Linked DNA regions of Homo sapiens: all the other regions are linked to region 6. The links are contacts of gene promoters, found by promoter capture Hi-C in blood cells and fetal thymus (Javierre and others, 2016). All regions are on one chromosome and are shown on one strand. The core of a region is centred on a gene start or on the middle of the fragment in contact, and the rest is flanking DNA. Distances in the headings are between cores, read along the strand shown.

The links. The method cuts DNA at HindIII sites, captures the fragments that hold promoters and counts their contacts. A CHiCAGO score of 5 or more calls a contact.
Region 1: a contact is called between a fragment that was not itself captured here and the fragment with the promoter of ARPC2 in region 6, in 1 of 17 cell types (non-activated CD4 T cells). The highest score is 5.1, in non-activated CD4 T cells.
Region 2: a contact is called between a fragment that was not itself captured here and the fragment with the promoter of ARPC2 in region 6, in 1 of 17 cell types (neutrophils). The highest score is 5.1, in neutrophils.
Region 3: a fragment that was not itself captured here is called in contact with the fragment with the promoter of ARPC2 in region 6 in 10 of 17 cell types (non-activated CD4 T cells, fetal thymus, total CD4 T cells and 7 more); the score reaches 10.0 in non-activated CD4 T cells.
Region 4: a contact is called between a fragment that was not itself captured here and the fragment with the promoter of ARPC2 in region 6, in 6 of 17 cell types (fetal thymus, total B cells, non-activated CD4 T cells and 3 more). The highest score is 8.6, in fetal thymus.
Region 5: a contact is called between a fragment that was not itself captured here and the fragment with the promoter of ARPC2 in region 6, in 10 of 17 cell types (total B cells, fetal thymus, non-activated CD4 T cells and 7 more). The highest score is 12.6, in total B cells.
Region 7: a fragment that was not itself captured here is called in contact with the fragment with the promoter of ARPC2 in region 6 in 3 of 17 cell types (naive B cells, fetal thymus and total CD4 T cells); the score reaches 6.9 in naive B cells.

The regions. Positions count from the first base shown.
Region 1 is chr2:218,588,867-218,591,941 of GRCh38, forward strand. All of the region lies in intron 5 of CNOT9 (CCR4-NOT transcription complex subunit 9), which reads left to right. It also overlaps the pseudogene RNU6-136P. Among named protein-coding and RNA genes, the nearest start is that of PLCD4, 17 kb to the right of the region's middle. The HindIII fragment of the contact is 1,538 bases long and covers 952-2,489 here.
Region 2 is chr2:218,527,785-218,530,794 of GRCh38, forward strand. It overlaps USP37 (ubiquitin specific peptidase 37), which reads right to left. Exons shown (of 26, transcript NM_020935.3): 10 at 2,172-2,256. Among named protein-coding and RNA genes, the nearest start is that of USP37, 39 kb to the right of the region's middle. The HindIII fragment of the contact is 9,507 bases long and covers 1-3,010 here.
Region 3 is chr2:218,668,044-218,671,010 of GRCh38, forward strand. It overlaps RNF25 (ring finger protein 25), which reads right to left. Exons shown (of 10, transcript NM_022453.3): 2 at 562-636; 3 at 196-298; 4 at 36-103. Among named protein-coding and RNA genes, the nearest start is that of RNF25, 2.5 kb to the right of the region's middle. The HindIII fragment of the contact is 499 bases long and covers 1,260-1,758 here.
Region 4 is chr2:218,701,139-218,703,969 of GRCh38, forward strand. It overlaps STK36 (serine/threonine kinase 36), which reads left to right. Exons shown (of 27, transcript NM_015690.5): 27 at 728-1,577. The coding sequence ends at 871. Among named protein-coding and RNA genes, the nearest start is that of TTLL4, 8.3 kb to the right of the region's middle. The HindIII fragment of the contact is 889 bases long and covers 1,028-1,916 here.
Region 5 is chr2:218,650,386-218,653,085 of GRCh38, forward strand. ZNF142 (zinc finger protein 142) reads right to left here. Exons shown (of 11, transcript NM_001379659.1): 5 at 1,316-1,915; 6 at 1-141. Among named protein-coding and RNA genes, the nearest start is that of ZNF142, 7.9 kb to the right of the region's middle. The HindIII fragment of the contact is 7,287 bases long and covers 1-2,700 here.
Region 6 is chr2:218,215,773-218,218,627 of GRCh38, forward strand. It overlaps ARPC2 (actin related protein 2/3 complex subunit 2), which reads left to right and starts at 1,417. Exons shown (of 11, transcript NM_152862.3): 1 at 1,417-1,482; 2 at 1,691-1,772. The coding sequence starts at 1,699. LOC101928487 (a long non-coding RNA gene) reads right to left here and starts at 1,414. Exons shown (of 2, transcript XR_923908.2): 1 at 1,256-1,414; 2 at 329-1,079. RefSeq lists an enhancer at 1,426-2,029 and a silencer at 1,551-1,600. The HindIII fragment of the contact is 6,430 bases long and covers 202-2,855 here.
Region 7 is chr2:218,717,601-218,720,703 of GRCh38, forward strand. All of the region lies in intron 1 of TTLL4 (tubulin tyrosine ligase like 4), which reads left to right. Among named protein-coding and RNA genes, the nearest start is that of TTLL4, 8.3 kb to the left of the region's middle. RefSeq lists a silencer at 1,966-2,263. The HindIII fragment of the contact is 161 bases long and covers 1,690-1,850 here.

The DNA of each region.
Region 1 (3,075 bases), core at 471-2,970, 370 kb after region 6:
ACCCAGCCTCAATTTTTTTCTGAAAGAGCATATTACTTGTGTCTTTTTTGTTGATTTGTATATTTTTCTCTTTTATTCGTTCAAGTCTCTTGGTTCAACATCAGTTATGCTCTATTATCTGTCTTTCATATTTTTTTCTCTAATCACTTTCAATTTTTAAATTTCATATTATTTGATTTTTTTCAAGGTTACTTTTCCATACTGCTGACAATTTTGGGTAGTATTCAACCTCTGCTCTAAAATTTGCCTTGTCACATTAAATTACTTTTTTAGTCTAACAAATATTTTATTCTTGAGTTGGGTGTAAGCAGGTATAATGATTTTTTTGGCTTTTTACTTTTAAATATATATATATGGAATGCTTCATGAATTTGTGTATTATCTTCGCACAGGGGCCACACTAATCTTCTCTGTGTTGTTCCAATTTTAGTACATGTGCTGTCTAAGTGAGCACTGGTTTTTTAATTTTTAATTAAATTATTTATTTATTTAGAGACAGGATCTCTGTCTGTCACCCAGGCTGGAGTAGAGAGGCATGGCTCACTGCCGCCTCGACCTCCTAGGTTCAGTTGATCCTCCCACCTCAGCTTCACAAGTAGCTGGGACCACATGCCTGCTCCACCACACTCAGCTAATTATTTTTATTTTTTGTAAAGACAAGGTCTCCCTATGTTGCCTGGGCTACTCTTGAACTCCTGGGCTCAAAGGATCTTCCTGCCTTCTGCCGTAGTACTAGGAGTACAAGCATGAGCCACTGTGCCTGACCAATTTATTGTTTTTAAAGAGACAAGGTTTCACTATGTTGCCCAGGCTGGAATGCAGTGGCTATTCACAGCCATGATAATGGCACACTATAGCCTTGAACTCCGGGGCTCAAGCAGTCTTCCCACTTCCCTCTCTGGAGTAGGTAGCTTTGATACTGGCACACATCCCTATACCTGGCTATTTTTAAGCTTTTTATTTTAAATATTCAATATATGGATGACTGTCAAAGGCATTGTTGAGCAAAAGAAGCCAGACACATGGGAATTCATACTGTATGTTGATTATGTGAAGTTTAAGAACAAGCAAAGCCAATTACTGGCAATAAGTTGGATTCGTGGTTAGCTCTGAGGAAAGAACATTGACTGGGGAAAGGTACAAGGGAATGCTGGAATCCTGAGTTGGTAGAAATATTGCTTTTTTCTGTTTTTTTTTTTGTTGTTGTTGTTTTTTGTTTTTGAGACAGTCTCACTCTGTCACCCAGGCTGGAGTGAAGTGGAGTGATCTCGGCTCATTGCAACCTCTGCCTCCTGGGTTCAAGCAATTCTCATGCCTCAGCCTCCTGAGTAGTTGGAACTACAGGCACACACCATCATACCCAGCTAATTTTTTGTATTTTTAGTAGAGATGGAGTTTCGCCATGTAGCCCATGCTAGTCTTGAACTCCTAAGCTCAGGCAATCTGCCTGCCTCCACCTCCCAAATATTCTGTATTTTATACAATATTTTGTATTTTAATCTGGTTATAGTACATAATGTGTACATAGGTAAAAATTCAAGGTACACTTAAGATTAGTGCACTTAACACACTTCACTGTGTGTAAGTTTATATTAGGTTCCTATATAACCTGCTGCTATAACAAATTACCACAAGCTAGAAGGGTAGTGGCTTAAAACAATGGAAGTTTACTGTTTTATAGTTTTGGAAGTCACAAGTTCTAAATGAGTTTCACCAATCTAAAGTCAATGTATCAGGAGGGTCATGCTTTCTCTGGAGGATATAGAGGAGAGTCTTTTTGTTGCCTTTTCTAGCTTCTAGAACTGCATTTCTTGCATTCCCTGGATTATGGCCCCCTCCCTCTTCAGATCCAGCGATGTGGCATGTTCAAATCTCTTTCTGCTTGTCACATTGCTTTCTCCTTTGTGGTAAAATCTCTCCCTACATCTCTCTTGTTGTTGTTGTTGTTGTTGTTGTTTTGTTTGTTTGTTTGTTTTAAGAGATGGGGTTTTCTCTGTCGCCCAGGCTGGAGTGCAGTGGCATGATCATAACTCACTGCATCCTTGAACTCCTGGCCTCAAGCAGTCCTCCCACCTTGGCCTCCCAGAGTGCTGAGATTACCAGCATGGGTCACTTTGCCTGGCCTTCTCTACATCGCTTTTAAGGACACTTCGTTATTACATTTAAGGCCTACTTGGATAAACAGGGATAATCCCCCATCTCAAGATCCTTAACTTAATCACGTCTGCAAAGTCCCATTTTTCATTTAAGGTAACATTTGCAGAGTTTGGTGATTAGGGCCTGGATATCTTTGAGAGCCATTATTCAGCCTACTACAGTGTTATAACCCCAATAAAATAGTAAAATAATTCCACAGTTCATTTTGATGAGCAGCCAAGAAAGAGTATCATTATCGTGATTGTCTAATTTAAATTAAACTAATATTTTAATATCTCTTTTATGTAAGAGCTAATGAGCTCAAGTTGAGGGAAAAATTGAGGCCACATATAAGCTTCACAGCCAGGATATGTTTTATTACTGTTAGATAATCTTCAAAGAGAAGCGTGAAAATCTTATTTCTTCAAGATCTTTTAAGAACAAAAAAGGCCTTATCTCAGCCGAGTGCAGTGGCTCACGCTTGTAATCCCAGCACTTTGGTAGGCCAAGGCAGGTGGATCACGAGGTCAGGGAATTCAAGCCCAGCCTAGCCAAGACGGTGAAACCCCGTCTCTACTAAAAATACCAAAATTAGCCAGGCATGGTGGCAGGAGCCTGTAATCCTAGCTACTCGGGAGGCTGAGGCAGGAGAATCAGTTGAACCAGGGTGGCAGAGGTTGCAGTGAGCTGAAATGGAGCCACTGCACTCCAGTCTGGGCGACAGAGTGAGACTCCATCTAAAAAAAAAAAAAGAAAAGAAAAAAGAAAGAAAGGCCTTACTTCATCTGGAAGAGAGGAGGCATAGCTGAATAAATCATCTTGGCCTATGGAAAAGAGAAGAGCCTTAGATATTCAAATGAGGCTTGGATCTCAGCTGTGCCATAGTAACTTTGTCACTTGGGACCTTAACCTGGTGCATTATTGATTAACAGTTATACC
Region 2 (3,010 bases), core at 175-2,674, 310 kb after region 6:
ATAAAGTGCTTGAGATACCACCCAAGGCTGAATATACCTAAATATATAATATCAAATTCTTTACCTTAATCATTTTATACAAATAACCAAGATGTTTTTAACACTTTGAATTAAATTCTATTAAGAACCAAATATGGGCTGGGCGCGGTCACTCACACCTGTAATCCCAGTACTTTGGGAGGTCAAGGCAGGCACATCATGAGGTCAGGAAATCGAGACCATCCTGGCTAACACAGTGAAACCCCGTCTCCACTAAAAATACAAAAAAAGAGCTGGGCATGTTGGTGGGCGCCTGTAATACCAGCTACTTGGGAGGCTGAGGCAGGCTAATCACTCGAACCCAGAAGGCAGAGGTTGCAGTCAGCCGAGATTGCCCTACTGTCCTCCAGCCTGGGCGATACAGCGAGACTCCATCTCAAACAAACAAACAAACATATGACTTAATAGGTCATTATATAGCATGTATATTATAGACTACCATTACCCTCACTTTTTTTTTTTAATTATATTTTAAGTTCTGGGATACATGTGTACAATGTGCAGGTTTGTTACATAGGTATACACATGCCATCATGGTTTGCTGCACCCATCAACCCATCATCTACATTAGGTATTTCTCTTAATGCTATCCCTCCCCTAGCCCCCCACCCCACGACAGACCCCGGTGAGTGATGTTCCCCTCCCTGTGTCCATGTGTTCTCATTGTTCAACATCCACTTATGAGTAAGAATATGTGGTGTTTGGTTTTATGTTCCTGTGTCAGTTTGCTGAGAATGATGGTTTTCAGCTTCATCCATGTCTCTGCAAAGGACATGAACTCATCCATTTTTATGGCTGCATAGTATTCCATGGTATATATATGCCACATTTTCTTTATCCTGTCTATCATTGATGGGCATTTGCCATTACCCTCACTTTTTACATTTAAAACCATCAACCCTTCTGTGCTGCACTGCATGATCACATGTTCTCAACAAGTGCTTAGCAGGTATCTTATGTATTTATACCCAATAAATCTGAAAAAAAAAAAAAAAAAAAAAAAAAAAAAAAAAAAAAAGAGCTTATCTATAGAATTGGCAATTAAATATCCAACTAGCCTTTTCCAATTTATTAATAAAAGACATTCACTGCTGTAATACAGCTTTTGATTTTTAAGGGAAATTCCTAAATATTTAAAATGTAGCTTAACAAATACAACAGCAACAAAAGGAAAATAAAAATGCTTCAGAGGAGAGATCTTAGTATGTTCATCCACATGGGATGGTAGAATATATATTGGTCTACAGTCTGATAATATTGTCTGTCGCAATCTATGGCATCACTACAAAACTTCCCAGAGCCAGGTTTAAGAGCACCTCCCAACTCAGCCTCCTAAGTAGCTATCACTACAGGCACACGGCACCATGCCCAGCTAATTTTTAAAAAATTTTCTGTAGAGTGGTCGGATGCGATGGCTCACGCCTATAATCCCAACACTTTGGGAGGCCAAGAAAGGCAGATCACTTGAGGTCAGGAGTTTGAGATCAGCCTGGTCAATATGCTAAAATCCTGTCTCTACAAAAATTAGCGTGGTGTGCTGACAGGCACCTGTAATCCCAGCTATGTGGGAGGCTGAGGCAAGGCTGCAGTGAGCCAAGATAGCACCACTGTACTCTATCCAGCCTGGGTGACAGGGCGAGACTTGGTCTCAAACAAAAAAAAAAAAAAAAAAAATTCTGTAGAGGCCAGGAGCAGGAGCAGTGGTTCAACACTTATAACCCTAGCACTTTGGAAGGCTGAGGTGGGAGGATCGTTTCAAGTCAGGAAATTTGAGACCAGGCTGGGCAACACAGTGAGATCTTGTCTCTTTTTTTTTGAGACAGGGTCTCGTTCTGTTGCTCAAGCTGGAGTACAGTGGCATAATTATGGCTCATTGCAGCCTTGATCTCCAAGGCTCAAGTGATCCTTCCACCTCAGCCTCTCAAAGTGCTGGGATTACAGGTGTGAGCCACTGTGCTCAGCTCATTTCTAGAATACTTTCTAACTAACATGTCAGGATTCTATGAGTCTCGTCAATTTTGTTAAATTATCATATTCACTTAAGAGGATAATACATAACCTATCCAATCATTCAATATTCTGAAAAAAAAAGAACTCCTAAGTTTTTCACAAGTAATATAACCAATGCATACCTGTCTAAGTTAGTGCCACCAGAAGAGTGTTCCTTGGATCCAGCTCTGCTACCATAAAAGGATGATGACTGTAAAGGTAAAAGCCCTATAAAACAAATGAACAAAGGAAAAACTTAATTCCTAAATCAACCATTCAAGTTCATTTAATAATAAAAGTATACATTAGTCCTGATTATATTTAACTCTTTTTCCTTCTCATCAAATACAGGAATACCTCATTTTATTGCTCTTTGCTTTATTGTGCCTCACAGATATTGCAGGTTTTTTTGTATGTTTTTTTTTAAACAAATGGAAGGCTGTGGCAACCCTGCACCAAGCAAGTCTATCAGTGCCATTTTCCCAACAGTATACGCTCGCTCACTTCATGTCTATGTCACATTTTGGTAATTCTTGCAATGTTTCAAACTTTTTAATTATATCTATTACAGTGATCTGCGATCAGTGATCTTTGATGTTACTGTTGTCACTGTTTTGGGGTACCACGAACTGCACCCATATAAGACGGCAAACTCAATTTATCTGACTGCTCCACCAAATTGTCATTATTACCCCATCTCTGTCTCTCTTCTTGGGCCTCCCTATTCCCTGAGACAATATATTGAAATTAGGATAATTAATAACCCTACAATGACCTCTGTGTTTTTAAGTGAAAAGAAGAGATGCACATCTCCTTTTAAATAAAAATCTAGCAATAATTAAGCCCAGTCAGGGAGGCACGTCAAAAGCTGAGACAGGATGAAAGCTAGGCCTTTTGCACCAAACAGCCAATGCAAAGGAAAAGCTCTTGACAGAAATTAAAAGTGCTACTCAAGTGAACAAGTGAATTACAAAGCAAAACA
Region 3 (2,967 bases), core at 259-2,758, 450 kb after region 6:
GCTGAGTTTTCCCTGTTCTGACAGGTTCAACTTACGTGTGGATCTGTTCATCTGAAAGTCCTCGGGGATTTCGGATAGAGATCTGTGGCACCTCATGGGGATACTAGTGGGGGCAAATAACAAGTTACTGCTGAAGCGGTCCACCCCAGGGACTCTCCCCTTCCTCCCTTTGCTGCCACACAGTAGGGGCTTCACCTCTGCTGGGACCTGAAGCACCAGAGTGAAGCAGACATACTGTGAATCCTGGTCCTCTGCAGTGGCAGGATGCAAAGTGATGTAGATCTCCCATGGTGAAGTTCTGCAGGTGGATCAAGTGGACACGCAGATGTGACTGGGTAGGGGCTTGGGGGCTGGGGAGGATGGGGCTGAGACAGTGAAGTGGGCAAAGGAAGTACACATTGGACTCTTTCTTTTGGGGTAGGATTAAAGGAATAGCTTTTGTCTACACAAGAGAAATATTATCTCTGAATCAAGGCTCACAATGTCTTAAGACCCAAATTCAGCATAGAACCTCTCCTCATTACTAGGGGGACTCCTGCCCACCACTGGTTGAATACATACCTGCCATTTCCTTTAATCACCTGTAGTTCATCTAGATAGATGGACTCCAATACTTCAACTTCAGAGGGAAGGACCCTAGAGAGACAGGAGTAGACTAACTTACCATTACAGCTCTCCCTGTGGAAGCCTGCTAAGGCCAATAAAGGCAGGCTTTGTAGAAAAATGGCAATCTACCAGAATGCATTCTCCTGCTAAACTCCTTAAAAACAAGGAATATGTTACCTTAAGTTGTCAACTGGCCAAATAGAAGGCATGGAAATCAGAATTTTAGGCATCATTTCTGCCAACAGATGAAGAAGTGGATTCTAGAGAAGTAAAATGACTAACCAAGGCTTAACATAGGTAGAACTAGGCCCAGAGCCAGGTTTCCTGACTCCCTGTTTAAGTTTCATTCCCCTTAGTGGCTGAATCTCTGGTCTAGAGATATGGCACTCATTCATTAGCATTAACGTTACCAATATTACTCCAACCTTTCCCTACGTCACTGTCCAGTGTGGATCCCAGTGCCTTGGCTACTGTCTACATACAGTTTTAACACCAGTCACCCTAAGCCTTCTTAAAGGAGATAGCAACCTCAACACAACATATTTAGGGTGGTATAAAGGCTGTGTTGTAATGGAAGAGCCAGCAGCCTCGGAGTTAGTTAACAGGTACCAATCACTTACAAGCTATGCAATCTGGGACGTGACCTCTCTGTAAGCTTAAGTTATCCTGTCTGTCACATATAGATAATAACACCTACTCTCTAGGGTTATTGTGAGGATAAAAGGTGATTTGTTTACATAAAGTACCTAATAGTATCTGGGCTATCGTAGCTAGTCTACGTCCTCTTTTTTTCCTGTCTGTATATAACCTTCTCCCTTAGAAGGAAAGAGGGAAGGAAGGAGGTAATAGAGTACTCTGGATGTATTTATGACCTGGCTGTCTGGTTGATCTAGATCAGCCTGTTGAGGTTAGGATCCATGGTTCTGATGTAAATCAAGGGACACACATACTTAAGCATAGAAACAGCAGTTGTAATGAAATTGAAGCTGAGTGATCAGTTTGTGTCTACAGCTCTACCAAGTGATACATGGAAAAATGCACACTTTGCTTTCTCACACTGCTCCCTCTTCATTCTAAGAGTAAGGCTGCCCCAGCACGACCTATGTCAGTGTTGTTAAGTCTTAGGCAGAAACTTCAAAATATAAAATATAAAGCTTCACACCTCACAGATAACAGTGTAGTTCTGGCTGACATGGGAGTGGGAGTCTCACAGTACTACAGGCTGCTGCACTCATTGTTGCTGTCTCCATGGCTCAAGGTGTCTCCCCTGAATCTTAAAAGTTCCCCTGAACAGGTAAACTGTAAGTTATCCCAGCGCTTTGGGAGGCTGAGGTGGGAGGATCACTTGAGGCCAGGAGTTCGAGACCAGCCTGGGCAACAAAGCGAGACACTATCTCTACAAAAAATAAAAAATTAACTGGACACGGTGGTCCCAGCTACTTGGGAGACTGAGGCAGAAGAATCACGGGAGCCCAGGAGGTCGAGGCTGTAGTGAGCCATGATCTTGCCACTGTACTCCAGCCTGGGTGACAAAGTAAGACTCTGTCTCTTAAAAAAAAAAAAAAAAAAGAAGTTTCCCTGAACACTTTGAAAACCAGTAGTCTAGATACTCTTAATAACGGCCAGTACTAGCTGGGCTCCCTGAACCAATGTAACATTGAGGTGTAGCCTCAGTCAAGTGGCCCTTCAATACTTCGCCCACCCTAGTTATATGGGTCCTGGATGGGATGGTGGTAAGGTGGTGACAACAAAATGGGGGAGGGGGGCCGGGCGCGGTGGCTCAGGCCTGTAATCCCAGCACTTTGGGAGGCTGAGGCGGGTGGATCATGAAGTCAGGAGATAGAGACCATCCTGGCTAACAGGGTGAAACCCCGTCTCTACTAAAAATCACAAAAAATTAGCTGGGTGTGGTGGCGGGCGCCTGTAGTCCCAGCTACTCGGGAGGCTGAGGCAGGAGAATGGCATGAACCCGGGAGGCGGAGCTTGCAGTGAACCGAGATTGCGCCACTGCACTCCAGCCTGGGCGACAGAGCAAGACTCCGTCTCAAAAAAAAAAAAAAAAAAAAAAAAAATTGGGGGAGTGGGGACTGAAGAATGTCCTAGTACAAAGAATCTAAGGTGTGGAGTCAGACAGATATGGATTTCTATTCATAATTTTCTATCTTTTGGCAAATCACTTTACTTCTTTGGGACTCATCTAGTCTTCCCAGGTGCCTGCACCTCAGTTATTAATGAAAAGGAGGCCGGGTGTGGTGGCTCACGCCTGTAATTCCAGCACCTTGGGAGGCTGAGGTGGGAGGATCACTTGAACCCAGGGGTTCAAGACCAGTCTGGCCAACATGGCAAAACTCCGTCTCTACA
Region 4 (2,831 bases), core at 222-2,721, 490 kb after region 6:
TTTTTTTTTTTTGAGACGGAGTCTCACTTTGTCGCCCCCAGGCTGGAGTGCAGTGGCGCGATCTTGGCTCACTGCAAGCTCTGCCTCCCGGGTTCACGCCATTCTGCCTCAGCCTCCCGAGTAGCTGGGACTACAGGCACCTGCCGCCACACCCAGCTAATTTTTTGTATTTTTTTTTTTTTTAGTAGAGACGGGGTTTCACCGTGATAGCCAGGATGGTCTCGATGTCCTGACCTCGTGACCCGCCCGCCTTGGCCTCCCAAAGTACGGGATTACAGGCATGAGCCACCTTGCCTGGCCGATGGTGAAGATCCTATAGGAATCTTGTGCAATCCATGGGGAAAATAATTAATGGGATTCTTGGTGGTAATGAGGTTAGAACTCACTGGTCTGCATTGAAGGCTAGGAATTAGACCTTTTGGCTTACTGTGAGTTACTGCTGCATTCATCAAGTCTTCCTGGGGACAAGTATATGTGTCCCTTAGTGCCTTGGTTTCATGGTCTATAACCAAAGAGAATGGAAGTAGACTTCTGGTCCTGATGATTCCTATCTCCAAGGTTTCTCTTCTGCCATTCAGTCTATTCCAAGTCCCCAAGAGCCCATTTCCTTTTTCTTCCTCTTCTCGAGTGGGAATTCCTGGGTAAATGAGAGTCCTCCGCACCTGCCCCAGACACCACCATTTCTGAGCCTCATGTTCTGTTCTATCATCTGTTCTCTATCCTACAGGTACTGGTGTCCCTGGGTGCCAGTGAGAAACTATCCTTGCTCTCTCTGGGGAATCAGTCACTGCCACACAGCAGTCCTAGGCCTGCCTCTGCCAAACACTGCAGGAAACTCATTCACCTCCTGAGGCCAGCCCATAGCATGTGATTCCAGATTCCTGCGGTCCAGCCTCCAACTTTGGTTGCCAGCTCTTTCTTATTCTACTACACAAGCCGCCAACTCAACTGAGAGCTAAAGAGACTAGAAAAGAGATAAGCTGCCAACTCAACTGAGAACAAGAAACTAGAAGAGATTTATATATAAAGCTTCTTCCTTCTCCCAGATGCAGGATGTTTTCAACCAGTAAATTTTATTGCTGTTGGTGCCAGAGAAGAGTCCTTTCTTCTCTACATCCAGGGGCCTTTTCTCCAATAATGTGCCTTTAACTCTAGGGACCTGCCTCACGGACCTTAGGGAAAAACCTCAACCTGAAAGATCTCTTCCTTTCTGGAGCTCCTTTAATCTTCCCAGCAGGTTTTTGCCTTAGACGTGCTGGCCCCAGGACAGTGATGAAGACAGAGCCTGTCTCAGCTCTAGGCTGTGGGGATCAATGCCATCAGTCCCTGTTATTGAGGGATTATCCCTTAGCCAACATTCCTATCTGTGGGTGGGCGTGGAGAGTGTATCTTTTTTTGGGGTGTGTGTGTATATGTGTGTGTGTATGTGTGTGTGTGTTTAATAGTTCTGTTTGTAAACTCTTTTAATAAAAGTTGTGCCTCACCATACTTGAAGCTCCCAGGACAAGGGTTGAGAGGCTCAACCCCTCTTTCAGCTTCTATGTGGTGTTGGAGGTGCTGGTATCGTGTTCACACAAGATCCTGGTCTGGCAGCTTATTTATATCATTTCTTGCCTTTACCAATTTCCCCCTTCCTAGATGAACTATATTTGGTTACCTACTTTCAAGTCAAGGCCGGTGGAGCTGAAATAGGAAAGGGTAAGATTCAACAGAGCGGTCAATTAGGTTGCTCAGACTTAGTGACTAATTTTAATATTTAGTGGAGTTCTAATGTGTAGGGACTCCAAGCTGCTGTAGAAGGATAGCTATTTTAAAGATTGTACAATTTACCAGAAAGGGCTTTTAGTCAGACCTGTTAGAATTATAATCTAACTGGAAGCATTGGAAAACCTTAACTCATTGGATGGCTTAGAACAAGCTTCCAGGGCCTTGATTTCTCCATCCATAAAATGAGGAGACTCCTTTCTGTCCTTCCTTAAATTCCAGTTGTTTTAGAAATGAAAGACAAGTAAAGTGCCCTTATTTTTATAAGAAATTTTGTTTAACCCTCATCTTCATTGTCCACAGTGTTTATACTTTAGCAAAAATAATATTTTTCTAGGGAGCACCATAATTTTCTTCTATCCAGATTATCTCAATTCAGTTCAATGTATATTTTTTGAGTCCTTTCTGTATGCCAGATACTATTCTAGGTACAGGAGATAAAACAGTGCCCATCATAGAGTTTCCATTCTGGTCGGGGAGATAGTGAAATTATTAAAAGAATAGTATGTAGGAAGGTGGTAAAAGCTATGGAGAAAAAGAAACCAGGGAAAGGAGATGAGGAGTGCTGAGTCGGATGGTCAGGGTAGGCCTCACTAGAAGGTGACACTTGAGAAAAGACTCGAAGGAGGCGAGGGAGTGAGTTGTGCACCTATTTTGGGGAAAAGCCAAGGCCCTGAGATGAAAGCATGCCTGGCATGCTTGAGGAGCTATGAGGAACCAGTATGGATTAAGTGAGTAAAGAAGGTGGAGAATAGTAGGAAATGAGACAGGAAGGTAATGGTGGGGGCCAGATATTGTAGGCTTTGTAGACCTTGGTGAAGACTTGGGCTCTTACTTTGAATGAAGGAGGCATCTATTGCAGGCTTTTGAACAGAGAATTTTATGAACTACCTTGCATCCTAAACGGATCATTCTTCATTCTGGTCTTGTGAATGGCTATGGGGAGTAGGGGAGAATGCGAAGTAGGATAAGCAGTTAGGAGGCTATTGTTATAATAATCCAGGCAAGAGACAATGGTGTCCTGGATGGCGACTGGGGTGATACCTATGGAGTGATAAAAAAGTAGT
Region 5 (2,700 bases), core at 103-2,602, 430 kb after region 6:
TATCCACAGCCTTTTGGGAGTCCTTCTGGGTGTCACTCTTCTCTTCTTTCTCTACATTCTCCTCTTCAGCTGTCTCCTGCCCAGGCAAGGGTGTACCTGCTTCCTGTGAAGGTTCTCTCTCTCCTGGAGGCAGTTTGGGAGCTGGAGATACATAAAACTTGATAAAGTCTACAGGAGCCAATAACAGCACTAAATGCTTATACTTCTCTACCTACTGGCTGAAATAATCACCCTCTCCCACTTTTAGCATAAGGAGATCTTGGGTTTTATGTATAAATGTATTTCCACTCAAGATGAAAATAGGAGGACGAAGAGCTAAGTTATTAGCAATGTTCCAGTCTAAAGTAACTCAAACCTCAGAGAGCACCACTTTCAGACTCCATGAAGCTGACAGCAGCGAGGTCATTGAGGTCATAGGGGGCTGAAAGTAGAGAATGGGTAGACTGCAATTCCTTCTCTTATCAGAATTCTGGCCTCTCCTGGCCCGTTTTCTCTGTTTCCTCCTGCTCCTCTGCTCTCTCATGCTTTTTTGGGACCAAGAAGAATGACAACTACTAAAACGCCGTCTCCCTTGAAAGTTCCTAAGTTCCTTTCTTTACTTCTTTTTTTTTTTTTTTTTGAGACAGGGTCTTACTCTGTCATCCAGACTGAAGTGCAGTGCTGCAATCTTGGCTCACTGCAACCTCCACCTCCTGAGCTCAAGTGATCCCCCACCTCAACCTCCCGAGTAACTGGGACTACAGACATGTACCACCACACCCAATTTTTGTATTTTTTGTAGAGACAGCATTTCACCACATTGCCCAGGCTGGTCTTGAACTCCTGGGCTCAAGGGATCCATCCACCTTGGCCTCTCAAATTGTTGGGATCACAGGCATGTGCCACAGTGCCCAGCCCAAAGGGTTATTTCCTTTTTAAAATAACCCTGGCTTCTACTGCCCAATCCCCAGTTGCTCTAAAGGAAAGTCTACAGGCATTCTATCAGTGGCCATAGCCAATGATGGTCATTTTCACTTTAGCTCTCAGAAAGTTGTGAAATGGATCATTAGAGAATATTGGTTAAGTAACTTCAGGCCACACGTAGCCTAAGCCAACTTTCACTCATTGTCACAAACAAAGACTTCCTCTTTGTCCCATATATTCCAACTGTTTCAAGATGCCTTCCCATGTCATCCAGTAACTCCATCCTCCTGAGCCACTGTCTAGATTCTCTTATATTCATGTACATTCATGGCCTTGGAAACAACTGCCTCTCCTATAAGATCAACTGTGGCTGAACTCCAGGAGAGGAACTGCTTGGCCCTTGGCCTCATACCTGGCAGCAGCTCCTGGGATGGAAGGCCCTGAACGGCAGAAAGTTCTCCCTGTGTCCCAGCACCATGGCTCCGCTGATGCTGCCGGAAGAGTTTGACGTTGGAGCCTATGAAGCTGCAGTGGCTGCAGTGGAAAGGGTAATGCGCCTGCCGGTGCAGCTCCATGCCCTGCTGGCTCCCGAAAAGCAGGGGGCAGCCCCGGAAAGAACAGGGCACAGGAACTGCTCTGTGAGTCTGCCTCAGGTGGTGCTGCAGACCCTTGCGATCTTCAGCAGAGAACACACAGCCAGATTCTGGGCAGGAGAAGGTGTCAGGAGTGCCCCGGTGAATCTTGAAGTGGCTCTTCAGGGCCTGGGGTTGGGCAAACTCCTGTCTACACACAGGGCATGATAGGGGGCTAACTGGCGGGCTCTGGCCCTGCAGAGGGCCAGGGAGGGTTGGGTTGCTGGGAGGCAGCTCTACAGAGCATGGGGGGCTAGAGAGGCCCTGCACAGGCTGTATATGGGTCTCACTGCACTGGTGCAGGGCCAGCAGAGTGGGCTCTGCGAAGCTCTGTTCACAGCGCTCACAGAAGTACACCTCCACCACCTTTACCAGGACACCTGCAGGCAGAGGACCGACAGAGAAAGGCATAGAATCAGATGGAACAAGACTCATAGGAGTTAGTTACTAGTAGAAAATGTAGGTGAATCTTTTAATATTCGTAGAGTACAGATGGACTTTAAGTCTGGTCCTACACCTGGACTGTAGGCCCCATAAGGTCAGGGACCATCTATCTGGCACGTGTGTTTGGATTCCTAGCACAATACTTGGCACAAGATAGGTGCTTAATAAATATTTGTTAAATGAGTGAACAAGCAAGCAAATCCAGAAAGCATTAAGACAGTATATTTTGCCCAAGTGAAAACCAGAAACTTCCAAAAGAAAATGACAAACTAGGGATAATATCTGCAATATAAATGGTTAAGAGCTTTACTTTCAAATTCTGTAAAGAGCTTTACAAAGGCACAGGAATGGATAAAATGGAGAATATCCTTCTGAAAATAATTATTATTCTCCATAATAATTGCTGCCGTTTTAAAAGCAATGGGCAAGACTTTGATAAAGAAAGGCTTAATAAACGCTCTCATTTGGTCCTCCAACAGCCCTATGACAACAAGGTCCTGAGATTCTACGAGATTAAGACTACTATGTTTATTAGTGGTAGAGCCATGACTCAAGGCCAGGTTTGTCCTACATTTATTCTGCTGGTCTGTTTGCTCTTTATTGTTTTTTTTGTTGTTAAAAAAAAAAATTTCAGGGCCAGGTGCAGTGGCTCACGCCTGTAATCTTGGCACTTTGGGAGGCTGAGACAGGAGGATCATGAGGTCAGGAGATCGAGACCATC
Region 6 (2,855 bases), core at 167-2,666:
AAAGGGCATGGTGGCAGGCACCTTTAATCCCAGCTATTTGGGAGGCTGAGGCAGGAGAATCGCTTGAACCGGGGAGGCAGAGGTTGCAGTGAGCCGAGATCATGCCATTGCACTCCAGCCTGGGCAAGAGTGCAAGACTCTGTCTCAAAAAAAAAAAAATTTAAGTTAGCGTATAATTTTAGGGGATCAGCAATATCCTGAAGCTTATCCATAGCCCGTTAAGTAATGTTTCAAAGGGCTATCTGTGCCTTAATGATAGGAGCTAGTTTCTTGTTCATTTTTTTATCCCCATCCCCAAACACATAGCAGAAAATAAATTATTTCCTTGTATGTAGAACGGACTCAGCTAAGTTTATTATATTCTCCCCGGAGGAGGGAAAACACAAAACAAGGCACAAAGGCAGAAGGTGCAGATGTAGCACAACGATGAGTTAAGATTCCGCACGCAGGTAACAAGGAGGGTATGGTATATCTCTGCCAGAGGTACTGGAAGGTTTCAAAGGCAGAAAAAAATGTGTTCCGGACACCTGGACGCAGAATTGGAGGCATGACAGGAACACAGGGAGGCCCATCTAAGTTGCCTATTCACCCAGGTGACCTCTCTTTCATTTCTTTAATTGTCCTTTTAACAATATGGGGAATTTCACCCAAGGAAAGGGTCCTCTTCTCGCCCCAGCAGGCAAGGGGTGTTCCTCCAGCGCAAGTTCCGGCCCCAGCTGCCCCCACGTCCCACAGGTCTCCTGCCTTTTGGCACGCACACTCCTGACCACTCGCTGCTTCCGCATCCCTACTCTGATCCTCTCCCCATGCATCTCTGCCTCCTTAGACAACTGAGAATTTTATTGTCTGTTTCCTTTGCCAGACTGTAAGTTCCACGAGGGCAGGGCCTCGTCCATTTCATTTACCACTACATCCCCAGTATAGAGCAAGAGCCCATGAAAATGTTTGTTGGAGAAATGAATGCATGATGGTGTCGCTGGACAGCTATACCTGGAAAGAAAAAGAGGCACCCCCATCAAACAAGCTGGGAGCTAAGAAGCCCGCTGGGAGACGACAAGGGCGAGCTTCTTGCGAGGTTTCTGAAATGACAAGACCGGAAGAATGGAGTTGGATCTCTGGGACAAGCGGGAGAGAGAAGCTGAACAGTCAGGCAAGCCTCGGGGAATGACAGCTCCGCGGGGGACGCACTGGTAGGCGGTAGACGTAAGCGGGGTCGGTGGGAAAGTAGACGGTGGGGCGGCGGCATCACACATACGCAAGCGCAGCCTCCGTTTCCTCCGGCGCGCCTGCGCTCGCGTTCACGAGTGGTTGAAGCGGAAATGGCGCCGCGGGGCCGCGCGTCCAGGCGGCGAGCGGAAGTGGGTGTGAGAGCGGAAGTGGCCGGCTAGAGCCGGGGGCTGGGCGGGGACCGGGCTTGTCGGTGAAGCGGCAGTGGCGGCGGCGGCGGCGGCTCGGCAGGCGGGTTCAGGCTTCGGGGGCCAGGTCGGTTGGGTGGGTGGGTGTCTCCACAGTCTGCGTGCGTGGGCCAGCGCGTTCGTCTTACCCTTCCCTCCACCCCGGCCCCTCTCCCCTTCTCCCCTAACCTCCTACCCCACCCAGCCCCACTCAGGGGGCAGCAGGGCCGCTCCCTCCGTCCTTGCCTCCCTTACCCACCCTCACCGGCCCTTGTTTCTCCTTCCCCTGGGGGCAGCCGCCGCCATGATCCTGCTGGAGGTGAACAACCGCATCATCGAGGAGACGCTCGCGCTCAAGTTCGAGAACGCGGCCGCCGGGTGAGCGCGCGCCCGGGGCCGGGGGTGGCGGGGGAAGCAGAGTTGACCCCAGCTAATCCCCAATGTTGTCCAGTCCCCCAGACCTGGAGGAGAGAAATGGGGTGCCTGGCAGGGTGTAGGGGCTGCCCCAGCGGGGTAGACGTGGGAGGCGATTGGGCGCGGCCGGGCGAGGGGCAGAGATGCGTGGGGAGAGGCTCAGAGGAGGGATGCGGAAGCAGCGAGTGGTGAGGGCTGTGCGTGCCAAAGGGCAGGAGACCTGTGGGACGTGGGGGACCCTGGAGCCGGAACTCGCTCCGGAGTAGCCCCCTGCCCTCTGGGGCGAGAAGGGGACCCCTTCCCTGCGTGAAATTCCCCGGCATTGTTCTGAACCCAGAGAGAGCCTGTTTGGAATTGGGTTGGAAGGAGTTTTCAGGAATTCCCAGGACTGGAGGAGGGAAGGAGATGCAGGCCCACATCGCCACCAGCATTCTCGTTCCCCACCCCCATCTCCTTTAAAAGGAGCAGAAGAGAAGACTAAAAGCCGACCCAGTCTTAGAGCCGGAAAAACGCGATCTCTGGTTTCCCTTCCCCGAACCCTTCTGTGAGAGACACTGGGCCATTTTGTTACATATTTTTAAAGCAAAGCCAATTGTCCCTCGCTCCACACCCCTTCCTTATCTCTCCTTTGAGGTTCTAATGCTCTCTCCTCACCCACTAGCCTTTATCTGGTTATCTTGTAAATTCTTACATCAAGACCCTAGGTCTGTGATTTCTTCTGTGGTAGCCCTGGCCCAGTTACACACTTCAAAGACTCCAGAATCTATAAAGTTCTTAGATAACCTGTCTTTACGATTGGACTTTTTAAAAGATGGGCTTAGGGCATCTTTCCAAGGCAGCCTCTCTGCCAAACACAAGAATCAGTAGAAGACAATCTGCTCCTCCAAAGCTGCTTTGCTTTTCTAGTATAATATTTAAAACATGAGCTAAGGATTTTGGGTTCTAATTTTTGGTGGCCTGTGGCCAGTCCCTTTGCCTCATTTCCCTATGTATGAGCATGGGGCTTCACATCTGGGTTTCACAGTTAATAAGTGCAGACCGTTTCTG
Region 7 (3,103 bases), core at 520-3,019, 500 kb after region 6:
AATCTTGACTTATACGGACCCACCCTTCTCACTAGGCTGTATTCTTGACCTTCCTCTCTTAGTAGGGCTTTAGGAGAGATATATTGCTCCTCCACCTTTCCTTAGGGAGAGAGAGCTTGGGATTTATCTCATAAGAGAAAATTAATGTGATTCCTACACTCCTCTCTATTTGGTTCCAGGCAAGTCAGTTCTATCTTCTTCTTTTTTTTTTTTTTGGAGACAGAGTCTTGCTCTGTCACCCAGGCTGGAGTGCAGTGGCACAGTCTCGGCTCACTGCAAGCTCCGCCTCCCGGGTTCAGGCCATTCTCCTGCCTCAGCCTCCCAAGTAGCTGGGACTGCAGGCGTCTGCCACCACGCCTTTTGTATTTTTAGTAGAGATGGGGTTTCACCGTGTTAACCAGGATGGTTTTGATCTCCTGACCTCGTGATCCACCTGCCTCAGCCTCCCAAAGTGTTGGGATTACAGGCGTGAGCCTGTCAGTTCTATCTTCTAACATAACTGTTGAGCAGTTGAGGTAATCTCATCAGAGATCTTGTGGACTGTAGACTGAACCATTTCTGATGTCCTGAGTTTCCCTGGTGACCGAGGGAAACACCTAGTTGAAGGAGGAAAGGGAAACTGCATTTCCCAAGAGCCACACTCTCTTGTAGGAGAGTGATTTAATTAGTGGGTAATGAATAATTGCTTTCTCTAGAAATAGATACCTTGTCCAAGTTGGTCTGGGCCTGGTCCCTGGAGACTTGTTGGTTTGCGACAGCAGCAATAGATTTTCTTTTCTTTTTTTTTTTTCTTTTGAGACGCAGTTTCACTCTTGTTGCCCAGGCTGGAGTGCAATGGCGCAATCTCGGCTCACCGCAACCTCTGCCTCCCAGGTTCAAGCGATTCTCCTGCCTCCACCTCCCAAGTAGCTGGGATTACAGGCATGCACCACCATGCCTGGCTAGTTTTGTATTTTTAGTAGAAATGGGGTTTCTCCATGTTGCTCAGGCTGGTTTCGAACTCTCGACCTCAGGTGATCTGCCCACCTCGGCCTCCCAAAGTACTGGGATTTCAGGCATGAACCACTGCGCCCGGCCAGCAATAGATTTTCTAACATAGGCTACTAATCATTCACACTCCTTTAAGGAGGAAACTTGAGGCAAAATCACCCCATAAAGATTGGAGGACAGAACTGTATAGGCAGTTTCCAAATGCTGCATGAAGATGACAAAGTAGGATGTTCAGATTCCTGAGAATGGGTGTTTTAAAGGGGAGAGTCTGGAGCCAGGGACATCAGTCAGGCTGCTTACCTTAACAGTCCTGCACTTGGTGTTAGAGGGGTTGGAGACTGGGCTGAGGCAGCCATGCAAATAGAAGGGGATGTTTCAGGCCATTTTGTTGATCCATACAACTTTCTGCAGTTTTTTATTCTTCACTCTTACCCCTTTATTCAAGTTTTATTTTTATTTTTAACAGTTTTGTGGAGGTATAATTCACATTGAACATATCCATCGTTTCTAAGTCAATTTTTTAAAAACTTTTGTTCTAGGAAGACTTAGTGTTCCATAAAGTTGTTGGGGGAGGAGACTTGGGCAATATTGCTAATAGGAGGCCAAACTGGACCAGGGTTCTTCCCACCCCCTTCTGCCAGCGTGGCTCTGTATTTGAGGTTAAAGATCCCCAGAGATTTCCTATAAAAGCCATCATGAAGCTTATAGGGCATATCACTAGGGTAAGTGAACAGTGGTGTGAGATAGCCTTGGGAAAGTATCACGTGAGAGGGACACACAACAGGTGCTCGTGGAGAGGGTGGGTCTTGAGCTGGGTCTGGAAAAGGTAAATAAAATATGGTAAGGATTCACAAGGAAGAAGCTTAGTGGAGTAAAGCCCTGCAGACAGGCATTTGAAAGGTTTATTCCAGGAATTTAGTGTAAGACCAGCGCAGTTCACATAACAGAGTTCAAGGTAGGAGGAAATGGAAATAAGCCTTAAAAAAAAAAAAAAAAAGATTAAGGGTCGACTATGGAGTCTTGTGGACCAAAGCTAAGAAATCTCACATGACAGTCATCTGGAATGCTTGTTAAAACTGCAGACTCATGGCCCTACTCCACACCAACTGAATCCTCTTGAAGGTGAATCTCAGGACTTTGCATCTCAGGTTATTCTGATGCAGGTGGGCCACCACAGTGTTTAGTAAGTGCTCATGGACCGTTTTTGAAAAGGGATTGACCTGATGAAGCAATACAGCAAAATTAATCTGGAGGTTGCCTGCAGGGTGGAATTAGGAAGGGCACACCTTGGAGACACATGCTTCAGTCAGTGCTGTTGCAGTAAGTCCAGATCTAGGGGCATGGTGGAAATAATAAAAGGAGGAAGAATGCTAAGTAGACAGAGTGTCTTAAATTTCATGACTGGTTTCCCTTTGGGGAAATAAAGTAAAGGAAAAAGTCAGAAATAACTTAGTTTTCCTCTTAGGTGATTTGGAGAAAGAAGGGTCCACTCAAGGAAATGGGACGATCAGGAGTGGAGAGCTAGTTTGACACACTAGATTGAAGTGGTTGGACATGCATTTGGAAAGGTGGAACAGGCAGTTGGTGATGCAGACATGAAACTTGAGACGACAAATCTGCAAAATGACTCTTCTGCAGATAATAGTTGACATTGTGAGAGAGATTGATTTGATGTGGGGGAGGATGAAAGAACTGGAGGATTTTGGATTGGCCTCAGGAGGAGGAAAGACACTATTGAAGGGGTTGGGTACAGCTGTGGCAGAGTGCACGCACTGAGTAAAAAATAGCAACAAGGAGATGGTGGTAAGAGGGGAACGCCTTTTTCATATGAATAGGTCCAACTCGTGGCTTTGCTGATGTGATATTGTGATATAATAAGAAATACTCCAGCCTGGTCAGCATGGTGAAACCCTGTCTCTACAAAAATACAAAAATTATCCGGGCACGATGGCGGGTGCCTGTAATCCCGGCTATTCGGGAGGCTGAGGCGGGAGAATTGCATGAACGCGGGAGGCAGAGGTTGCAGCGAGCCGAGATCGTACCATTGCACTCCAGCCTGGGCAACACAGTGAGACTCCGGTCTCAAAAAAAAAAAAAAAAAGAAAGAAATACA